Regions from separate parts of the Homo sapiens genome. Here region 2 is linked to region 1. Evidence: promoter capture Hi-C in human tissues and cell types (Jung and others, 2019). All regions are on one chromosome and are shown on one strand. Each heading gives the region's core, a stretch centred on a gene start or on the middle of the fragment in contact. The rest is flanking DNA. Distances are from core to core; before and after follow the strand shown.

What was found. The method cuts DNA at HindIII sites, captures the fragments that hold promoters and counts their contacts. A contact is called where the count stands out against the background at its distance.
Region 2: a fragment that was not itself captured here is called in contact with the fragment with the promoter of EPHA3 in region 1 in 1 of the 25 tissues and cell types used here (dorsolateral prefrontal cortex).

Annotation. Positions count from the first base shown.
Region 1 is chr3:89,105,882-89,109,782 of GRCh38, reverse strand. EPHA3 (EPH receptor A3) reads right to left here and starts at 2,162. Exons shown (of 17, transcript NM_005233.6): 1 at 1,947-2,162. The coding sequence starts at 2,034. RefSeq lists an enhancer at 2,181-2,320. The HindIII fragment of the contact is 4,313 bases long and covers 597-3,901 here.
Region 2 is chr3:88,608,058-88,611,958 of GRCh38, reverse strand. No RefSeq gene overlaps it. Among named protein-coding and RNA genes, the nearest start is that of CSNK2A2IP, 270 kb to the right of the region's middle. The HindIII fragment of the contact is 4,868 bases long and covers 1-3,901 here.

The DNA of each region.
Region 1 (3,901 bases), core at 913-3,412:
TTTCTGAATATATTTACCTTTCTATATCCATATGGTTAATGTGTACCTGTCTGTATAATTATATACATTATATCCCCAAACATACATGAGGTGAGGCTTAAAAGCAATTTGTATTTGATTAACTCTGTTTCATTAAATTAATACTGATTAATTTTACATAGGTGTGAAATAGTTTGGTGTCTTTTTTTTTCTCTTGCAGTTTACTTAAAGGTTGTTTTCCACAAAAATACTGACTAACAGCTACATTCTTGTGCATAATTAATTCAGTAATATCCATATCTACATAGTTCATAACCATTCTATCTGGAAAATATAATTTATCATGACAATGTGGGAATTTTAATACTATTTTTCTAGTTATTGTCAATATTTTAATATCTGCAAAGAACAAAAATTTTTAAAACATTAAGTTTAATTTATTGATATGTTACCTATTATACATGTTACCCGTTATACAAATGAATACTCTTACCTTTCATTCAGGAAGAATGATTGACTCTTACTTTCAAATAAACATTTTAATTTGGTTTGTAAAATAAAAAGTCATTTGTGGGTAAGATAATTTTCTTGATCCTTATATTTTAGAATTTTCATTTTCTTATTTAGAAAAAAGATTCAGAACATTTAATGAAAACTGCCAAATTGATAAAGGCAGTCAGTAAGGAAGGAGATAAATTACTGCTCTATTAGCAGTGAAAGTAGGTCACCGAGTATCAGGCAGTTATTACATTTAATAAAAAACTTTCTAAGTATTTTGTTTTTACTCGTGTTTTTAAAATTAAGGTACATATACAACAGTATTGGCTTGACAATATATTTTCTAAGGAGTGATGTATATAACATGATGTTTGCACATCAGTTGCTCGGTATTGTTAACTTGCAAAATAAATTGCTAAATGTTACTGTTATAAGTTCAAAATCACTAAGAGGAAATTAATGTTGTAAGTGTGGCTTTACACTAATCAATTATTTAGAGAAGTTTGTTTTACGAGTTAGTGACTGTATTCACAAGAATAGATCACAAAAGGAATACAGGAGAAAGAAAATGTATGTATTAAGTACACAATCTTATAGAACACATTGGTGTCCTTAACATTAGGTTTGCACTTTAACCCACTGAAAAGGAATTAATGCTCATTACAAGGATAATAAATAACACAACATCAAGGAAATGCCATTTGCTGCATATGAACATTCTCTCTTAATCTACTATTCAGTTATTTACTATATCTTCCCAGGAGCTATCCACTATTCATTAAATACATTCTCCTATTTGTATATAAGCCTTTAAACAAAGAGAATCCAACCTAAGCTTATTGTAATTCTTGCAAATATTACTTACGTTAATGTGGCATATGCTGCTCTTTAGAACCTGTACCATAGAGCAAACCATTGCCTGGCGGGATACACACAACTTCAACACAGCCCTTGCACCATAAACACGCACCTCCGCTTCGACAAACTCTGATTTCCCTTTAGTCCATTCATAAATGCCATGATCCCAAGTAGGAACAACCTGTCATTACCTTTAAACATACTAAAGAGTCTAGAGAGGAAGGCTGAATTTTCTTTCAAACTTCTCGGAGTACCACATGGTCATAATTAGAAAATAAAATACTGCCTTGGCTATTTGGCAATTAACATAACTGGGTTGCAACGCTGGAGGATTTTCTTTCTTTCTTTCTGCTCAAATTGGCAAACAAGGTAATTGCTCGAAATGGTGTCAGATTAAAAACACATTTTCAAAGTTTAGACCATCTAAAATTATCTCCTGAAGTGTTTTAGAAGACAGTTGGAAAAAAAAAAGGCACATCTTTCCTTCACTCTCAGAGCAAACTGCTCTATTCGGAGGCACCTTCCCGACGTGCAAGGCTTCGGTGAGAACGTGCTTTGAAGAGCGTGAGCCCCGCGGGGCAGAGCTCCGTGCGTCGCGGTACCTGGCTTACCTTCATTGGAAGGCTGCGGAATCAGTTCCCCGAAGCTGTCGAGAACAGAGCAGCTGAGAAGGAGGAGGATGGAGAGCTGACAATCCATGTTGCTGGTGCAGAGGGCAGTGAGAGGAGCATATCTCCATGAAGCATGCCACTGATGTGAGGGGGAGCGCTCTGATTGCTGGAGAAGTTACCATGCTCCGCTCGCAGGCTGATGTCAAGTTTGACACTGGAGATAAGGAGGAGTCTGGCTGCCTTTCCGCGAACCCCGCTCGGGGACTTCCCTGGGTCCTAGTGCCGTCTTCAGCGTGCGCTGAAGCAGAGCGGGATGGCACGCAGCTGGCTCTGCAGCCCAGAGCTGCTCGGGAAGGAGACCGGGTGGGAGTGGGGGCGTCGCCCATGGGACAGGAAACACAGAAGATGTGATGAGGCCGCGGTGCTGAGAAAAATGCTCCCTCTTTTGTGTTGCATGAAAAGTAGCTGTTTTATTGTTTGCTATCCATGCTCTGTTGCTTAATTCACCGAAGAAATCACAGCCTTGATAGGAGTATCATATGGCAATGTGAGTGCAAAAGGAACTGAAATGCGAGAGAAACGTGTGTTTTGAAAGAATAGCAGTCTTTCGTTAAAAAGTCAATCATGTTTGTATAATTGAAAAAAATGATTATAGTTATTCCTTTACTGTGTTCAATGTGATCATAACTCTCCATGAGTTCTTTGTGATTCAGAAAGACACTAATACACAGCCTGAATCAGAGGGTCTCTGCATTTCCACACCCAATGGTATCGTGGCTTTTTACTAGATCTGGCACAGTGATTTTCCGCGCACATAGAGCATACTTTGTTTTTTTTCAAACAGGGAAGTTGACCTTCATCATCTTACGGAAGGGAGCAAGTCTAACCCCAGCCGGAGGTCTACATTCTTTTCTCGTTCTGTGTTGTAAAAGTAATACAGATCAAACCTAAATTTCTTAATAATACATATCCCCCTCCCTCACCATCTCACATTAGGATCTCTGGGTTCTGCAAGAGAAACAATGCATAATTCACAGCTCCTCCATTCAACTTTCAACCACTGATAGTCTAATAATATTGGGGTATTCTTATTCTTTAACATTCCAAATCCAAAAGCTAAATAATAATGTCCTCGTACTTTCTCACTTATTTTACACCATGACTATCAATGGTCTCTGTTATTTCCAATCCCATTGCTGAACAACCTATTGCAATCTAGTTCAGCCAAACAATTTTGTAATTTATATTTTAATAACCAGCATCACTTATCTTTAAAATATCTCCCAGAAAATGGTTACTCAGATATCCTTCCGCCCATCTATCTCTTCTTATACTAAAAAGAAAACAAGATTATTATATTCCTCTCACAACTTCAGAAAATAAAGGTATGTTGATAATCTTAAGATCAGTGATCAATTTTAGAGCTCTTGATAATGAAACTTAAATGAAAGTTTGAAAAGCCCTTGCTAATAATGTATTCAGTCCACAAACTCAATGTTTTTAGTTAGAGAACACAATTTTCACTTGAATTTAAGTTAATGGTGCCAGATAATAGTTTGATGACTGGGGTGGGGAATTGGGGTGGATAGAAGCAGCCAGGGGAAAAGAGAGATCCTTCTCACTTTTCTGTGTATGCCATGTTACTTTGTGTCTCTAACTTCTTTCCACATTGTGTCACCAGAGGCTGCGCAATCCTCAAGTGCCAAGTCTGTCAGAATTGAAAATAATAGCAGATACTGCCCAGAGAACTTAGACAGTGGTGACTCTGGTGTTTTTTCAAAGTTCCAGCACAACACTTACATTGTTCCAAAGTTAGATACACGTTTTCTGAAACTTGAAAGAAACTAAAATCTTATTTGGAATTGACAATTTGAAAACATTTTGGAGAATCTGCCAATGTGCTGACACGCAGATCCATTGGCGCCCCTCATGCTATTTCTCTTTTCACACTTGAA
Region 2 (3,901 bases), core at 613-3,112, 500 kb after region 1:
CTGGCAGAAATCCAAAGATGAAGGAAAAGAAAATAATGCTCTTTGAAGAGTCAGGACAGGAGAATTACTAATGCAATGGGTAGGTTGTCTAAAGATAATGTTTATTTCTATCCTTTGCAATAAGACCAATATTTATTAAAATATGTTTGTTGCTATTCCAGTTTATATGAGGGTATCAAGGCTACAGTTTTATGTTCTTGGCATATAAAAGATGATAAAAATAAAAATATATTTATTCTAGAGGAAATAAACATTTTCACTAAGTTAATTTAGACACATGGGGCTACTGTATAGCACGAATGGACATAAGAATTTATGTTAAAATTGAAACTGACAAAATTCAAAAACCAGGCTGTTTTTAATCTTTAACTGTAAAATTGTTAAGGAGATATAGTATCCAAGACAAAGTTGAATGTTGGAATTGTAAACAGGCTATGAACATATGTTGCAAATAAATGAGCTATGAGAATAGAAAAAAAATATGTAGTTCAATAAAGACACTAGAGTGAAAAAAAAAGATATGTGTATATATAAGCATATGCTTGGCAAAGTGAGCTAGCTGATCACATTGGCTTCCTCAGGATTTAGGCGCAAAGCTAGGCTGCATTTTCTAGCCTCACTTGCAGTTAAATGTGACCCAAAGAAATGTTAGTTGAAGCGACATTATTGTTTCCATTCAAGGTGACTGCAGTGGAAATGGCTCCCAAGATATGTGGAGTCACATGGTAAATGTGACAGACATAAAATGGGAGACTGCATCCTGGGAGGACACCCTTTCAAGGAGCAATGCCATTCTTGAGCTCTTACATAAGCAGAAATATTAACACTCATTGTCTTACACTACTGAGACTGGGCATATGTCTGCTACAGTACCTAGTGTTACCTTAACTCAGTGGTTCTCAAGCTTCAGCATACATCAAAATCACCCGGAGAGCTTGTGAAAATATGTTAAAAGGCCTGGCCCCACCCCAGAGTTTCTGATTCAAGAACTCTAGAGCGACCCAAATGTTTGCATTTCTAACAAGTTCCCGGAACTGCTGCTTTCGTACAATACTTCAGGAACTTCTTCTTTAACTCGTATAATATGCTTAAGGTAAATATGTTATTATTTTAAACTTACTATTAGAACTTTGAGGTATAAAAGAATTTCTTCTCCTTCTTTTTATGACCCCTCCCCACAGTTATTTTGGTAAAACTCATTAAAAAATAATTGAACTAGTGTCAAAAATAGGTAAAATACTTCAGAAATCCAGAACCGATCTTAATTTTCTTACTTCTGCTCTTCATCTAATCAACAGTTATTCCTTTTTTAAGCCAAATTATACTTCTTCAAAGCACATTAATGAAGAATTATAATTATAAAGTGCTTTGTAAATTCCTAATTGGATAAAAGTTTTCATGATTTCTGTTATGTTTTCCTTGACAACCTACACCCTGGTCATGTCCTGGTTCCTCTAACTCACCCTAAACTTAGGTGAACCTTTTTTAGCATCCACTTTCCTCCTTCCCTTTGATTGTTTTCTCTTTCAACTCCAAGGCCCTTTAAATCTTGTCTGTGCTCTCCTGGGCTTTTGTAAATGACAGTGAACCCAGCTACTGCCTTTCAGAACCTTCAAACCCCACAGAAACTAAAATTTCCAGTCATCGCTTGAGTTCTTGTTTCTTGCTCTCTCAGAACTTCTTCTACCAGCCCATAAATATTTGAACACAATGAAATCATTTAAGGATTCAAAATATTTGGTTTGTCACTTTCTTTAGGAGGTTTCAAAAGAAGCGATGTTTTCAACTAAACTATAGAAACAGCAAGAAAGGTATGTATTTCTTTTCCTCAAAGATACTCTGCTACAGGTGATGAAACTAAATTCTAAGAATAGACCCAAATCATTTAGTTAAAAAAAAGTACTAATAAGTCTCTCTAGCAACCTATATGTATATATAATATGTATTTAAATATAGAAACTATTACTGTAAACAGAAGTGCCAAATTTCTCTAAAGAAAATTATTGAAAATCAGCCATCTCCTCTGTAAAAGAGGGTCATTAGAGTACTAAATCATAAAGCTTTGTAATAATTGAGAAAAAGTTATAAATTAGTGTCTGACAGATTGCACTCAAGAATGTTGGCTACCACTACTATTATTACTTTGGACTCCTAAATGGGGATTGTAAGGAACAGCGACCACTACTGAAGATTAACAATGACCATGGCTCTCCTTTACTCTGGAAATCATTGGCTCAATCTTTTGGGTTACTGATGATGTGATCTTCTTTAATGTAGGGGACTCAGGCTTTACAAATCTGAAGGTTGATGAATTCAAGTCTGTCAGACATTCAAAAAATAGAAAAATGATTTCAGAAATAGCAAAAAAGGGCATTTGCCTAAAAATGTAAGAGCTAACTGGTAGTTGGAATTATTTAAGCAGAAAAATTTTGAAAAGGAGTCTTCATTCCACAAGTTTGCTTAAAGTTTAACAAAAGATGTATGAATAGCAGCAGAGACTTTTTTTTTTTTTTTTTTTGGAGCTGGCATTAGGAAGGAATAGATAGACGAGAAGAAAGCATGAGCGGCCCAAAAGGGAGTATGGACACCTGGAACCCCTAGGCAGGAAAAGTGAACCAAGAGTGGGCTGGAGAAAATTTTTTTTTGTGATGGTAGTTGTCTTTTTTTTTTTGCATTGGTTTTTCCTACATGGCTATGAACTTGGATCTCTGTAATGGCAAGATTCCATAAGGCTTTGGCTTCTAAAAGCCCAGCAACATTATTATTAAACATTTTCTACAGACACTTTCAGTCTCTAAATTGGTTTTTTGTTGTTTTTGGGTTTTTCTGTTTTTTTGTTTTTTTGTTTTTTGAGACGGAGTTTCACTCTTGTTGCCAGGCTGGAGTGCAATGGTGTGATCTTGGCTCACTGCAACTTCTGCCTCCCAGGTTCAGGCGATTCTCCTGCCTCAGCCTCACAAGTAGCTGGGATTACAAGCTTGTGCCACCATGCCTGGCTAGTTTTTGTATTTTTAGTAGAGACAGAGTTTTGCCATGTTGGGCAGGCTGGTCCCGAACTCCTGAACTCAGGTGATCCAACCACCTTGGCCTCCCAAAGTGCTGGGATTACAGGCGTGAGCCACCGCTCCCGGCCTCTAAACTGGTTTTGAAGAATGCATTAATTTGTGCGTAGGATAACAAAGATAACCTCATAGAACAAAGAAGTGTGAAGAAACTGTGGTGAAAAAACTAGTTGTCTAACATTAGACCTTAGTTACATTAGCATATAGGCAAAAGTAGACAACCATTTTAAATCTAGGTGATTTTTTAATGTAAAATTGCATTATCACTTTTATTTCCTATATTTAATTGGAATAAAACTAAACACTTCAATTAAATATTTTCCTTAATTTAATAATGAAAATATTAAGCAAACTTTTAAGAACACACAATTAGAGAAGATAATACAATTTAGAGGGAAAAAGAATAAAGAATTTATAAATCAATACATAAAAGGAAGCCAAGAATGAGGCCAATCCTTTGGGTATATGCCCAGTAATGGGATGGCTGGGTCAAATGGTATTTCTAGTTCTAGGTCCTTGAGGGGGTCTGGGGGAGAGGGATAGCACTGGGAGAAATACCTAATGTAGATGACGGGTTGATGGGCGCAGCAAACCATCATGGCACATGTATACCTATGTAACAAGCCTGCACATTCTGCACATGTAGCCCAGAACTTAAACTACAATTTAAAAAAAAAAAAAATGAGGCTAGTCAATATGCATACCATAAATAACTGTATATACTACTTTAACAGAGGCACAAATTTGGAAAGATTATAACTGATTTTTATGAGAATTCAAATGTGATACTGTGTAAAAAAACTACTTTAAATTCTGTATAGCACTATAGAAGTGCCTCT